Linked DNA regions of Homo sapiens: region 2 is linked to region 1. Evidence: promoter capture Hi-C in human tissues and cell types (Jung and others, 2019). All regions are on one chromosome and are shown on one strand. Each heading gives the region's core, a stretch centred on a gene start or on the middle of the fragment in contact. The rest is flanking DNA. Distances are from core to core; before and after follow the strand shown. Region 1 holds the start of CYP24A1 (cytochrome P450 family 24 subfamily A member 1). Region 2 overlaps TSHZ2 (teashirt zinc finger homeobox 2).

Region 1 (3,301 bases), core at 268-2,767:
CTTTCATGAGAATATTATATAACATATGGAATCTACATACTGTATGCAATCTATACTATATTATGTATATTTAGTGTGTATTGCATATAACATAATCTATAGTGTATGCTGTAACATATATACCATACAATGTATATATAAATATGTACAAGATTCATAAAGTTTAGTATATATCAATAGCTATTATTTTTATTAACATAAACAGTCATTAGCCCCTCCAGACAAATCAGAAATGATGGTGTTAAAGCTTAAGTTGGACTGCAAAAGATTTTTAAGAAACAAACTAGAGGCTTACAAAAGAATTTACCAGGGAAGGATTTGCCAACACTTGGGGCAAAAATGACTGAGACACGTAATTGAAAAGCAGGGCGAGGAAACAGAATGTCCCTCCCCTCCTCCCTGGCTGGTGGTAGTTTTGTATTGGATCAGGTTGAAAGGATTCGAGCCACTTTAAAACAATCAACAAAAATCTCCAACTTCCGTTCCTGAATTAGCAAAGCGAGTTCTACTCTTGCCAGCCGCGGTAACTCTAGAAATTGTGTATGTTTGTCACTGGACCTGCCTAGGACGCACCTTGGGGGAGAGGGGGAGTACTGGGGGCGGTGGTTTCAAGCTCTGTGTGCCCCTCCTTTGCACAAGGTAGTCGGTGTAGAAGAACAGAGGCGGGCAGTGGACATAGGGGAGGTGGCCCAGCCTGAATTCAAGCATCGTTGGTGCAAGCCACGCTCTCAAGGCGCATTTCCTAACTTCCTAAAGAAGTAACAACAGCAACTAACTTTTATTGACTGTTGACTATAGACAAGGCTTCGTTGTTGCCGCTTTACGTGCATTAATTCATTTAATCTGCAAAACAACCAAACATGAAACAGCAGGAAGGAAATTCTACAAACTCCCCTTCTTGCTCAAGTTAAGAAAGTCTCCTCTTCTGGTGCATTTCAGTAAGACTCAAATCCTCCCCACCCTGGGAGGCGCAGAAAGCCAAACTTCCTCCAAAAAAAAAAAGGCAAAAAAAAAAAAAAAATCACTTCAGTCCAGGCTGGGGGTATCTGGCTCCCCGGGAGGCGCCCGGGCTCCCCGGGGCCCTGGCAGACGCCGGCAGCTTTTCTGGGCCCGCACTCGGGGACCTCGCCCGCCCGGCATCGCGATTGTGCAAGCGCCGGGCGGCAACCACGGCCGCCGCTGCCGGCTCCTGCCCGCCGGGGGAGGGCGGGGAGGCGCGTTCGAAGCACACCCGGTGAACTCCGGGCTTCGCATGACTTCCTGGGGGTTATCTCCGGGGTGGAGTCTGCCGCCCCCACCCCACCTCCCGCGCCCAGCGAACATAGCCCCGGTCACCCCAGGCCCGGACGCCCTCGCTCACCTCGCTGACTCCATCCTCCTTCCACCCCCCCTCCCCTGGGTCCCGCGTCCCTCGGAGTCTGGCCAGCCGGGGGCCACTCCGCCCTCCTCTGCGTGCTCATTGGCCACCCAGGGCATGCTCTGTCTCCATAAATGCATGGTCCCTGGGCATAGGAACATGGAGAGGGACAGGAGGAAACGCAGCGCCAGCAGCATCTCATCTACCCTCCTTGACACCTCCCCGTGGCTCCAGCCAGACCCTAGAGGTCAGCCTTGCGGACCAACAGGAGGACTCCCAGCTTTCCCTTTTCAAGAGGTCCCCAGACACCGGCCACCCTCTTCCAGCCCCTGCGGCCAGTGCAAGGAGGCACCAATGCTCTGAGGCTGTCGCGTGGTGCAGCGTCGAGCATCCTCGCCGAGGTCCTTTCTGCTGCCTGTCCCGCCTCACCCCGCTCCATCACACCAGCTGGCCCTCTTTGCTTCCTTTTCCCAGAATCGTTAAGCCCCGACTCCCACTAGCACCTCGTACCAACCTCGCCCCACCCCATCCTCCTGCCTTCCCGCGCTCCGGTGTCCCCCGCTGCCATGAGCTCCCCCATCAGCAAGAGCCGCTCGCTTGCCGCCTTCCTGCAGCAGCTGCGCAGTCCGAGGCAGCCCCCGAGACTGGTGACATCTACGGCGTACACGTCCCCTCAGCCGCGAGAGGTGCCAGTCTGCCCGCTGACAGCTGGTGGCGAGACTCAGAACGCGGCCGCCCTGCCGGGCCCCACCAGCTGGCCACTGCTGGGCAGCCTGCTGCAGATTCTCTGGAAAGGGGGTCTCAAGAAACAGCACGACACCCTGGTAAACCCCTTTTCGCGCCCCTGACTCTCTCCTCCCTCTTCCGCCCTCCCAGTGGCGCTCCAAACCCTCCCCGACATGCGCGCCTCGGGCGCATGGTGCGCTTCGGCGTCTGGGCAGGGAGGGTCCCCGGTCCCCTAGGAGGAAGGAGGCGGGAGGAGGGAAAGCGCTTCGGGCACGGCGGAGGATGCGCGCTGACACCGCGCTGTGCCCGGCCGGCTGCAGGTGGAGTACCACAAGAAGTATGGCAAGATTTTCCGCATGAAGTTGGGTTCCTTTGAGTCGGTGCACCTGGGCTCGCCATGCCTGCTGGAAGCGCTGTACCGCACCGAGAGCGCGTACCCGCAGCGGCTGGAGATCAAACCGTGGAAGGCCTATCGCGACTACCGCAAAGAAGGCTACGGGCTGCTGATCCTGTGAGTCCAATCCGAGGGACCTGGGCATGCGGCCAGACCTGATGAGCCTGACGGCGCCTGGAAATTGTGAAGAGGCGGAGTTAGAGTTCCCTGGGGTTGGAAGCTTCTTACGTAGGGCGGATACCAAAGCCCCTCTCCCGTGCCATCGCAACCCTGAGCTCTTGTACAGATTAGAGTCGGTCCACGGAAAAGCCGTGCTGTGCACCCAGCACCTGCGTTCTCTCTGGCAACAGGGCAGGGCCACACCCTCCCATCAAAGAAACGCCAAAACAGGGTTGTACCAACTGTGGTGTTCAGACTCTTGGGCAGGATGAGGTTCTGAAGTCAGCGTACCAGGCAAACATCTTATACAAACAAAATTATCCCTTAAAACTCCCTGAAACACCTTGTAAGCTCAAAAGCGAGGAGTTAGCCTCTTTGGCTTTTTACAGTGACATTTTCTGCAGAGGATTGGGGGACATGCCTTATTTCTACTTGTAAAGGTGGAATAAGGAGGGATATCAAAGTTGTGTTTTAGGTCGACAAATGCTACTATGGGATGTGATTCTTCTGCTTTTTAGTTGTTAGCATTTAACAAGTTAGCACCTTTATTTACCCCCAAACTGTAATGCCTAATCGTTATATTTTCCAGGATATAATGACTGGAATTAAAAACCCTATTAATTCACGGTGCTTCACAGGCTGTATGGTCTGCTATGGGGCAGGTG
Region 2 (3,301 bases), core at 273-2,772, 840 kb after region 1:
CCTTCCGTTCAAGCTGCCCTATAAATTTCTCAGACCACAATGCTTTATAATTCCAGCTTCTTAAGTAGCCTTTGTTAAAAACAAAACAGAGCAAAGCTTTATCACTATGCCCTACCAACTGTATTCATACTTCTCCCAAACACCTGTAACCGAGGCTCATTAGCCCAGCCTCACTCAACACAAGCAAACATTAGTACATCCAAATCCCGCATAGACACCTGGTAACTCTGTCCATATATTATAACCAGTTGGTTATAATATAATTCACAGCAGGCTGAATTCAGAGCTGGGGTGTTTCTCCCTCTTACACAGTTTGCCAGACACCCTGGCAGATTTCCTTAGCTGTTGAGGCTTGAGAACTTCATCCCACGCAAAGTGTATGATACTGAAGCCAGGCTCTTGTGGGGAAGGATCCAGAAGGAGCCTACACACTTCAGATGAAACCCAGACAGATGTCAGATAAACATATTTGAATAAACCGAACGTCACCTTTCTCTTTAATCGCTTGCTTTGGAGGGGCTGAGACTTTCTGGACCTTATCAAAGCTCTGTCATCTTTGATTCCCTGGTCACATTTCATGCACACATTTTCTGTCTTTCTTTTTCTTTTTTTAGTGTCAAGATGATGGGGATGCAGAAGAAGGAAAGTAGAGAGGATTATAAGTTTAGGAGAAAATAAAACATACAATCTCCACCTAAATGTCCTGGCTGTTATGACTTAGGAGTGACTACTGGTACAGAGGAAATAGTTCTGGTTTTCTTAGGACTGTTGGATCATATCGGACTCTTAGGAGATTCTCAGGCTGCACTAACCGTATTCACGTTTCTTTCTCTTCAGTCTGTCAATTGAAGGCTTCTCATTATTATCACTCTTAACGTTAAAGGCATTGTATTTCATACCCCTTTTATGTTTAAAAAGCCTACATATCACCTCAAATGATGGCAGGTGAACTGGTGAAATCTGAACTAGCTTTGGCTTTGTTATTGCCCTATAGTTATGCAAGCACTGGGGGAAGCTTCGGAAAGGGTGCACTGGGCTTCTTCTTACATTTCCTTGCACTTCTTATGAATCTATAATTATTTCAAGCCAAAAGGTTAAAAAAAAAGTTGAAAGACTATGTAAAAGATAAATATGTAGAGACAAAAAAGTCTAGATCAGGAGCTGGCAAACTTATTCTGGAAAGGGGCAGATAATAAAGAAATATTTTAGGCTTTGCATACCATATGGTCTCTGTAACTCTGCCATTGTATCGTGAAATTAGCCATAGATAACATGTAAACAAATGGACATGGCTGTGTTCCAATAAAACTTTATTTATAAAACAGGCAGTGGGTTGGATTTGGCCTGAGGGTTTCAGTGTATCAACCCTGATCTAGAATTTTTGTAGTAAACCTTAAAGTGTCCCAAAATGTTAGTGATACAAATTAACATTGGCCTGGCTCTGTCCTCCCTGTCTCTCTCTCTCTCTCTTTCTCTTTCTTTTCCTCCAGTGGATGCCTATTAGTTATATTATTAAAAAATAAAGTGCTTGCTGTTTTTAGCTGATTTCTTTGTTTTTAGAAAAGTTACGGAAAACTACCTAGAATATCTTCCAGATTTTGGCATTCTTCCTCTTTTTACGCCCTCCCCCGCCCCCCACAACCATTATCCATATAATTAGTCTAGACGCAAGGCCCATGTTTATGACCAAATCCCACATGTGGGTGATTTCTGGTTAATGGCTGCAGTGTGTTTACGGTCAGCTGTGCCAGTAAATGCCAGAGTCATCAGACTGATATTGATATGGAGGATCAGAAGAAAAGAGAAAGCAGGGCTTTCCGGAGTTAAATTCAGCCATAAATGGTTTTCGATGCTAGATCACAGAAATACAGTCCTGGGGTCTGTGTATAATCACCGCCCCCATACATCCTGCTTTGTAGGAAGCAAAGAGAAGACAGACTCTTTTAGTTTTAAGTTAATTTTGTGATTAACAGGGTACAATGAAGGTGCTTCCCAAAGCTTTGAGTTGAGGACCAAGAATTGAAACTTATAATGCTGGATTCCTGCCTCCAGCCCTGCTCTAGACAAAACAGTCTCGACAGACAGTTGCCTCTCCGGTTTTTAAAGTTCAACAGGAAAGGAGACAGAAGTTGAAGTTCTTTGGCAAATGCATTCGAGTGATGAGAAACATTCCTGGTTTATATTAAGCTTGAAACCCTTCCGATGGCAATAGTCAGACCTTGAATTTATGGTAGAACCTGATTTTCTAGTAGAAATGTTACTTGCCTGGGTGATACATTCTTGGCTAAAGTCCTGAAGCTTAACATTTTCTAGAAATTATCTATAATGATGTATTTAATTGCTGATTCAATTAACTATTCACACCCTGCCACTGGTGGATATAACATTTCTAAAGTATCTATCAAGCAGGCCAGGGTTATGGCTTTAAACATGCAATTAAAAAAATTGATATTCCACCTTTAGCTACAAAAAGATTTAAGGTGATATATAATGGAAATAAATAAAAAAAGCTTAAAAAGGAGGATAAAGCAAATATCTTAATGATAAAAATTAGAATGGCTACTGTGATTAACCATTCACTTCGTATATGAGCTTCCTGGCAACCACTGGGAAAAAGGAACAATATAATTTTTAATGCTCTTATGATTAGAATAGAAAGATGCTAATTCCTCATCAAATTAGACAAGAAAATGCTTTGCTACTGATTCTGTATGTTGAATAATCAATTATCAATGGCTTATCAATATTCAATCATTTATTGGCTAGTGCACAGATGTTCCGGACGGTTCACATCACTGTTTCTGATCAGCATTGCAGAGAGGACAAATTACTATGCCTCTATAATGTGAGTAGCTCAGGAATAAAGAGTCCAAATTACAAATGATAAGTCTGTAAATGCTGAGATTCCAACTACTTACAAACAGAGTTGGATTTATACATATCCTGCTGCTTGCACAGTGCTGCATGTACGATTTCCACGACCTTCTCAATTTCCAGTATTTTCCAGAATAGGCTCTATTTCAAATATTTCTGTTTATGCAGATATTTTATAAAATACAGCACAGATGAAGCATGCTGGGAGTTACATGCAATCTTGGAAATTTAGCAATCTCGGCACACATTTCCTCCTACTGGTCATGATGGAAGAGTGTGTTGGACTCTAAGGGTGAGCACCATTGTCAGGTTTATCGTCCCTCAATGTATAACCAGCACACATCCCAGCCCCCTGCTTTAAATGACTCCCAAGGCTTCACTTTGCATATCTTTACCAAGGGTCAGGCCCTGGTTGGCCTCTTCCCAC

Evidence for each region. Contacts are between HindIII fragments. The study calls those that stand out against the background at their distance.
Region 2: a fragment that was not itself captured here is called in contact with the fragment with the promoter of CYP24A1 in region 1 in 6 of the 25 tissues and cell types used here (H1 embryonic stem cells, heart left ventricle, lymphoblastoid cells and 3 more).

The regions. Positions count from the first base shown.
Region 1 is chr20:54,172,202-54,175,502 of GRCh38, reverse strand. It overlaps CYP24A1 (cytochrome P450 family 24 subfamily A member 1), which reads left to right and starts at 1,517. Exons shown (of 12, transcript NM_000782.5): 1 at 1,517-2,181; 2 at 2,404-2,594. The coding sequence starts at 1,924. RefSeq lists an enhancer at 1,294-1,887. The HindIII fragment of the contact is 4,712 bases long and covers 1-3,301 here.
Region 2 is chr20:53,327,990-53,331,290 of GRCh38, reverse strand. All of the region lies in intron 2 of TSHZ2 (teashirt zinc finger homeobox 2), which reads right to left. Among named protein-coding and RNA genes, the nearest start is that of TSHZ2-AS1, 170 kb to the left of the region's middle. The HindIII fragment of the contact is 3,606 bases long and covers 1-3,301 here.